2 separate regions of the Homo sapiens genome follow, and region 1 is linked to region 2. Evidence: promoter capture Hi-C in human tissues and cell types (Jung and others, 2019). All regions are on one chromosome and are shown on one strand. The core of a region is centred on a gene start or on the middle of the fragment in contact, and the rest is flanking DNA. Distances in the headings are between cores, read along the strand shown. Region 1 holds the start of RNF34 (ring finger protein 34). Region 2 holds the start of MSI1 (musashi RNA binding protein 1).

Region 1 (3,226 bases), core at 624-3,123, 1.0 Mb before region 2:
TTAAGTTAAATAATAAACATTTAACAGCCCAAATCCTCAATGGTGTAAATCCAGTTTCACAAAAACAAAAGCATCATTTATAACTGTCATCTGGCACAGGCTGATGTCTATTCAGGTCCATATTTTGCTTCTGAAAATACGTATCTTTTCTATAATTTCAATTGCCACCAAACTTTGTTTCTAAAATTTCATCTTAGAAAGTAGTACCTTCCACTTCAATTCAAAACACACGTCTGTTTTCAAAGAACTTGTTTAAAAATTTCAACACTGGACCTGTCTCTAATTCTTTCCTTCGATAGCTAGTTCCTTAATGGGCCACAAATTTAATATTAATAAAGATACTGATTCTTCGAGGCATTATATATAAAGATCCCTGCTTTGTTTTTGGATCTTAACACAGCAGAGGGTGGTTTTCAGGAAATAAAGCTACTTCTAGATACTTTAATAGATATTTCAAGCTGTAATAATATTTTATAACTAAACTGGAAAGTTAAAAATAAGCTTTTACAATATCCTCATACTTCAAGGCACAGTTCCAAAGTTACCTATTCCAAAAATATTCCTTGCTTTCTGTAGCCAGAAGTATCCTTTCTGGCTCCTGTGTTTTGTCCCTGCCTTTTTTTTTTTTTTTTTTTTGATACCTATAGCCTTCTGCCTTGTAATATGGTTACTTACAAATAACTCTTCTTTTGAATGGTAAACTGCCTTCCTAAGGGATGAGACTGTATTTTGAATTACTTCTCTTCACCATGTCTCCCTCTTGGCTAACGCACAGAAAACGTTCAACAAAACATGTGCTGAATTTCTGTGACCAGCTGACACTCTTTTTCAATCTTCTATAGTAAATCTTTGACGCTTTATGGAGACAGCGTTAATCTAGCAGCTCACCTGCTAGATTACCCACCCCCAGCACACCTCTGCACTGAGATTAACGAAACCATCTAGGTCTGAAAGTTATCATCACCTTATGACTCATCCCACTTGGTTTGAGTTCGGCAAATGAATCAATACCCTGAACTGACTGCTGTTCACAAAGCTCTTCAGAACTCTCAGTGATCGGGTTGAGAATCATCTCTCAGAAGTAGGCCGGAAACCCCGCTCCCCTTTCCCCTTTTCTTCAACTTCTCATCAGTAATGCTCCCACGCTCTCACTCCCACCTTGGAGAACTCAAGCTGCCAAATTCCTTGCTGCGTTTACCTAGTGGCGATGGAGGCACATCCAGCCTTCTCTAGTTCGCGGCCCCGACGTGCAGCCTACGAAGCACCCCTTCCGGGTGGCATCCCCACCCTGAGAGTTCTTTAACCCGTTAGCCTGGCCCTAGCCTCACCACCCCCTGCACCCCTCCTGTTCTCCTCGGTCCCACGATGTCCCCAACACTTGGGTTAGTTCAAGGACTCGGGGCGGGAAAGGGCACGCCGCGCGCCAAGGGACCGAGGCTCAGGCGAGCCCTGGCGGCTCTGCCTCAGGCCCCCGAGGAGGCGCACAGGGCCCGGCGCAGAGAGGGGCCCACCCGGCGCGAACGCTAGGGACGCCCGGCTTCTCCCCACCGCTCGGGTCGCTGACGGGGGTGGCACTGGAGGAGCTCGAGAGGGTCCGGCAGCCTGCCCTGGCTCGGTTGGGGCACCTGAAGCCGGGCAAGCGACCCCCCTCAGCGCAGCTCTCCGAGATGACGACTAGGTAACCGCTAAGGCGGAAAGAAAGGAGGCGCTTCAGGTGCCCTGGCAGGATAGGATTGGCGAGGAGGGTCTGTCCGGCTCCACCGGCCCCTCACCTTCATGGCCGCGACCGCCTCAGCTCGGCCGGCTCTACCAGGAAACTCAGCACCATAGCAGCTCCTCACACTGCCGACCTCCTTCCCTCTGGGCGGTGATTACCGCGCCCCGGGAGGCGACCGAGCGTCCGGACGTAAGGGGCGTGGTCACGCTCGCCGCGTGCCCCGGTAAAAGCGCAGAGCGGCGGCCACGACGACCAATAGGAAGCCGACTTTCGGGAGGCCGGTCACCAGAGCCAATGAAGCGACAGGGATTGGGCGGGGCCTCTGGCGTTCCTCCTGGCTGGGAGTGCGCGGGGAGGATTCTTTTCCGCCCCGAGCGAAGACCTGCGGACCTGGGCGTGGCGGAAGGCGCGCTGCGGCGCTGCTTTCTCGGTTGGGTGTTTGAAATGGGAGATAGCGTCCCTGAGGAAGCTGCTGCGGCTTTCTGGGCTAGGTGGTCAAGTTTCCGGGGAGGGGAGCGCGGGAAGGGCCGTGGTGAATTTGAACACGCCGGTTGGCTCGAAGGCCTTTGTTATGACCGTCAGAGCAGGGCCTCAGATTTCCTTCCCAGACGTTCCCGCGTTCATGCTCGGTGATGACCTCGGGGCTCCTCACTCGTGGGTCCGGTAAGGAGCGGCAGCTGCACTCGCTAGGACGCGGCCTTTAAAAACAAGACTTATTGAAAACACTTAGAAAACCAAGGGCTCTCAAATCCCAAGGGCTCTTTGAAAAGCTGTATTCAAAATAACCAAAATCGTAGCATAATAAAAGAATTTGCTCGAGTCTTGGAATTGCCTTTGGACAGAGAAACTGAGGTTGTAAATTAAGGTATCGATTTCTTCAGCTGTACTGGATGACAGTTTATTTTCCTACACCTTTTTTTTATTTTTGACAAGGTCTTGCTCTTGCCCAGGCTGGAGTGCAATAGTGTGATCTCGGCTCACTGCAACCTCCGTCTCCCGGGTTCAAAGGATTCTCCTGCCTCAGCCTCCCTAGTAGCTGGGACTTCGTGCGCCCGCCCCACACCCGGCTAATTTTTTCTATTTTTAGTAGAGACTGGTTTTCACTGTGTTGGCCAGGCTGGTCTAGAACTCCTGGCCTCAGGTGAGCCGCCCACCTCGGCCTTCCAAAGTGCTGAGATTAGCCACCGGGCCCAGCCGATTTTCCTACACTTTTTAATCTCACCTCTAACTTAACCAGTATTTAAGATTTTAAACATAAAAAAGTCAGTTCGCTCTTCATGAGGACCTAAGACTGTTCTGTTATTTATATACATTATAGATTTGCTTCGACAAGTTGTGCTATATTAGATTAAAACACACGGAGAGAGAGAGAGTGCGTGGCAGGCCACTTCCTTAGACTGAAATAATGCATCAGAGTATGTATTTCTCTTGCTTCAAGTGCTGCTCAGATAATGTCACTTCTTATCCATAATAGTCCTAGGTTTTTTTTGGAAAAATGTACAGAAAGCC
Region 2 (3,338 bases), core at 298-2,797:
GCTTGTGTGGCACTGAGACCCCCAGCAGGGATGGGGAGAAGGGGTGTTGGCCACCTAAGCTTCCTGGTTTGATCCTTTTTTGGCTGGTTTCAGCTGGGGAAGTGAAGGGTCCTAAGGCTTGGATATGGAGAGGTGGGAATATGGAGAGGTGGGGATATGGAGAGGCGGGGATAAGGAGAGGTGGGGATAAGGAGAGTGGCCCCGCAGCTCCCCTGGTGAACCAGAATACTTTCTCAGGGTTGTTCCCAGGCTGGAGGGAGGGAATTTTAGGGGTACGTAAGGTGACTCCAAGGAGCCTTGGGTGCAAGTACTGGGGGATCCCAGAGACCCAGAAGATGGGGGTAGAAAGGAAGGTGTTTGCCTTCACGGGGAGTAGCCTCAAAATAAGAGGGACTGAGGGAAGTCATTCCAAATGCAGTGGGTAGGTAGTTTAGGCTCTTCCAATGGGATGGGGTGGAGCTTAGACCTCTGCAAAAGAAGGGGGTCATTCGGAGGGGACGGTGCACAGCTGAGGCGTTGGGCTCCTAAACTGGAAACAGGAGGCTCTAAGAGGCACTGCCTTTTCCTCCAGCCTCGGTGTGGTGGGGGTGGTGAGTGTCTGGAACCGGGTTTCCCGAATCAGGACAGGAGTCTGAATGGATCTCACAAAAACCGGCCAGGGAGGGAGAGAACCAGGGGAGACTCCTCACACCGGGAGGTGGGGGTGGCGGCAAACTGAGAACCCGGGCTTGGGGCGCGGGATTTTCTCAACAGACCATAGGGTCCACTAATGTGGACGGCAGGGATTTGGGGAAACTAAGGGGGACTCTCACTTTGGACACCAAGGGCTGAGGACGGATTGGGGAAGAGGATACGGTTTCTACTGGGGTGCTGATGGAGGTTCCCCACTCGGGACGCGAGGCACTGAGTGGGTCCCCCAAACTGGATATGGGATCCTGGGAACGGAGCGAGGGCTCTAAATTAGAGCCCTGGGGTGGGGGTGGGGGGCTGTAAATTAGGTTGGGAGGAAACTGGGGGCTCTGAGGGCGGCTTCTCGCTCCGACTGGGGAAATGGAGCATGTGGGGACTGGGGAGCACTAGGGCTATCTCCCGCCCGACCCGAGGAGATTGGGGTTCTCTTCAATTCTGGACAGCAGGGACCTGAGAGGGAAGACCGGGGGGGTTCCCGATCCGGAACCGAGCTACCTTGAAGGCACCGGGAAGCGCTTCATTCCGGGAGGGCGTTCCCGCGGCCGGGCCCCCGCGCCGGGGTGGGTGGGGGGTGCGGCCGCGCCCTGGTCCCGGCCCGCACCGGGATTCGGGGGTCTCGCTCGGCCCCGGAGACCCAGGAGCCCCGCGGGAAGGGGGTCCCGGCGCCGCCGCCTCCGCGGGCGCCCGGGCTCGCGGGCGAGCGCGGGGCTTTATGCGCGCAGGGCGGCGGGGGGAGGAGCCGGCAGGTCGGCCCCCGGCGGGCCCTCCCCTCGGCCGTCCCCGCCCGCCCGCCCGAGCGGGGTCGGGGGAGGGGGCAGCATGGCCTGTCCGTCCGGCCCCCTTCGCCGCGCTCCTCATCTGCCCCGCGCCGAGCGCCGCCGCCGCCGCCGCCGCCGCCGCTCCGCTGCCCGCGCCGCCCGCGGCTCCCGATGGAGACTGACGCGCCCCAGCCCGGCCTCGCCTCCCCGGACTCGCCGCACGACCCCTGGTACGGCCCGGCCCGGCCTGCTTGGCCCGCGCCCGCCCCGGCCCCGCCAACATGGCCGATCCGGGTCCGGCCGGGCCTCCCCGGAGCCCGGGCCCGCGCCCCCTGCGCCCTGGCGCCCGGCGCTCACGCGGGCCCTTTGTGTCTCTCCTCCTCCCGCAGCAAGATGTTCATCGGGGGACTCAGTTGGCAGACTACGCAGGGTGAGCGAGCCCGGGAGCGCCCGCCGGTCCGGCAGGGCACCCCGGACCCCCCGGCGCCCCGGACCCGGACACCCCAGCCCGGCCCTGCGCCCTGCTGACCCCGGGCGCCCTCGCGCCCTCTTTCGCGCCCCGCCCGGAGACCCCGAGAGCGCAGGGCGATCCGCGAGCGCACCCGGCCCAGCGGGTGGAGGGGAGCAGATGAGGGGTTCAGGGGGTATCGGGGGGTGGGCTGGGCCCCCGGGACCCGCCGGCGGCAGCGCCAACTCCGCTCGCACCTGCGGCTCAAACTTTTGTGAGGCTGCTCCCGGAGCGGCGGGAACCCGGCCGGAGCCGTCCCCCTTCCAGCCCAGCTCGGCCCTCGGCTTCCCGGGGCCCCGGTGGGCGCCAGGAGGCTCAGCGGGAACGGGGCGAGGGCGGTGGGGGGCGGCGGCAGTGGAGAACGCGCGGGCAGCTTGGCGCGGGGGCGGCCGGGCCGCTCCGGGGTCACCGGGGGCAAAGGACGGGGGGGGGGGAAGGGCGCGGGGCCCGGGCTGGTCCGAAGGCGGGTGTGTGGTTACAGAAGGGCTGCGCGAATACTTCGGCCAGTTCGGGGAGGTGAAGGAGTGTCTGGTGATGCGGGACCCCCTGACCAAGAGATCCAGGTGAGCCCCTCACCCCCTCCTCCTGCTCCCGGCTCGCCCCCCTCCACCCGCCACTCACTGCCTTGTAACCATCTGCCTCTCCCTCACTACGGCGCGCAGGGGTTTCGGCTTCGTCACTTTCATGGACCAGGCGGGGGTGGATAAAGTGCTGGCGCAATCGCGGCACGAGCTCGACTCCAAAACAGTGAGTGGCCCTCGGGGCTTCGGGGGTCCTTTGGGAGAGGGAGGCTGCCGGAGGAGAGGGTCAGGACTCTCCCCAGGGGACAGCTGGACGGGGTCCATGAGGAAGGAGGGAGTTTTTCTGAGTAAGAGGGCTGCCATGCTCTGAAACTTTGTCACTAGAGTTGGGGGGGAGAGGGAGGAGAAAAATCCCTGGCCTGCCATGAGATGCTACATCCCCCCTCCCCTAGTCCTGGTGAGGGGAGAGGCAGCCGCCACCCTCTCCCTAGAAGTACTAATCATGATGCCTCAGAGCAGAGCTTGGGGTGGGGCTAGGTCCCTCCCCCAGCCCAAATTGGGTGAGTCAGGGTAGCACTGACCCACCCGGTGGCTTCTGTGAACTCTAACTAGTATTTGGCTCTGCGACACCCCCTCTTCATCCAGACCAATGGCAAAGCATCCCTTGAAGCCCCCTCCCTCTCTCCTTCCCTCCTCCCCCGACTTTTGGTCAATGAGCTCCTTGCTTTGTGTGGAAGACAGGGACCTGCTTTGCCCACGGAGGGGATTTATGAGAAAGGCTCTAGCTTGCCTGGAAACGACCCTTCGGAAGACTAGATCTTAGGAGAAGCTGCTTGGTTGGCATTCAAACTCATGGAACAT

What was found. Contacts are between HindIII fragments. The study calls those that stand out against the background at their distance.
Region 1: a contact is called between the fragment with the promoter of RNF34 here and the fragment with the promoter of MSI1 in region 2, in 1 of the 25 tissues and cell types used here (dorsolateral prefrontal cortex).

The regions. Positions count from the first base shown.
Region 1 is chr12:121,398,765-121,401,990 of GRCh38, reverse strand. It overlaps RNF34 (ring finger protein 34), which reads right to left and starts at 1,873. Exons shown (of 6, transcript NM_025126.4): 1 at 1,773-1,873. The coding sequence starts at 1,778. RefSeq lists enhancers at 702-1,233, 1,234-1,765, 2,251-2,330. The HindIII fragment of the contact is 20,899 bases long and covers 1-3,226 here.
Region 2 is chr12:120,367,373-120,370,710 of GRCh38, reverse strand. MSI1 (musashi RNA binding protein 1) reads left to right here and starts at 1,547. Exons shown (of 15, transcript NM_002442.4): 1 at 1,547-1,678; 2 at 1,838-1,878; 3 at 2,438-2,519; 4 at 2,619-2,703. The coding sequence starts at 1,620. The HindIII fragment of the contact is 19,353 bases long and covers 1-3,338 here.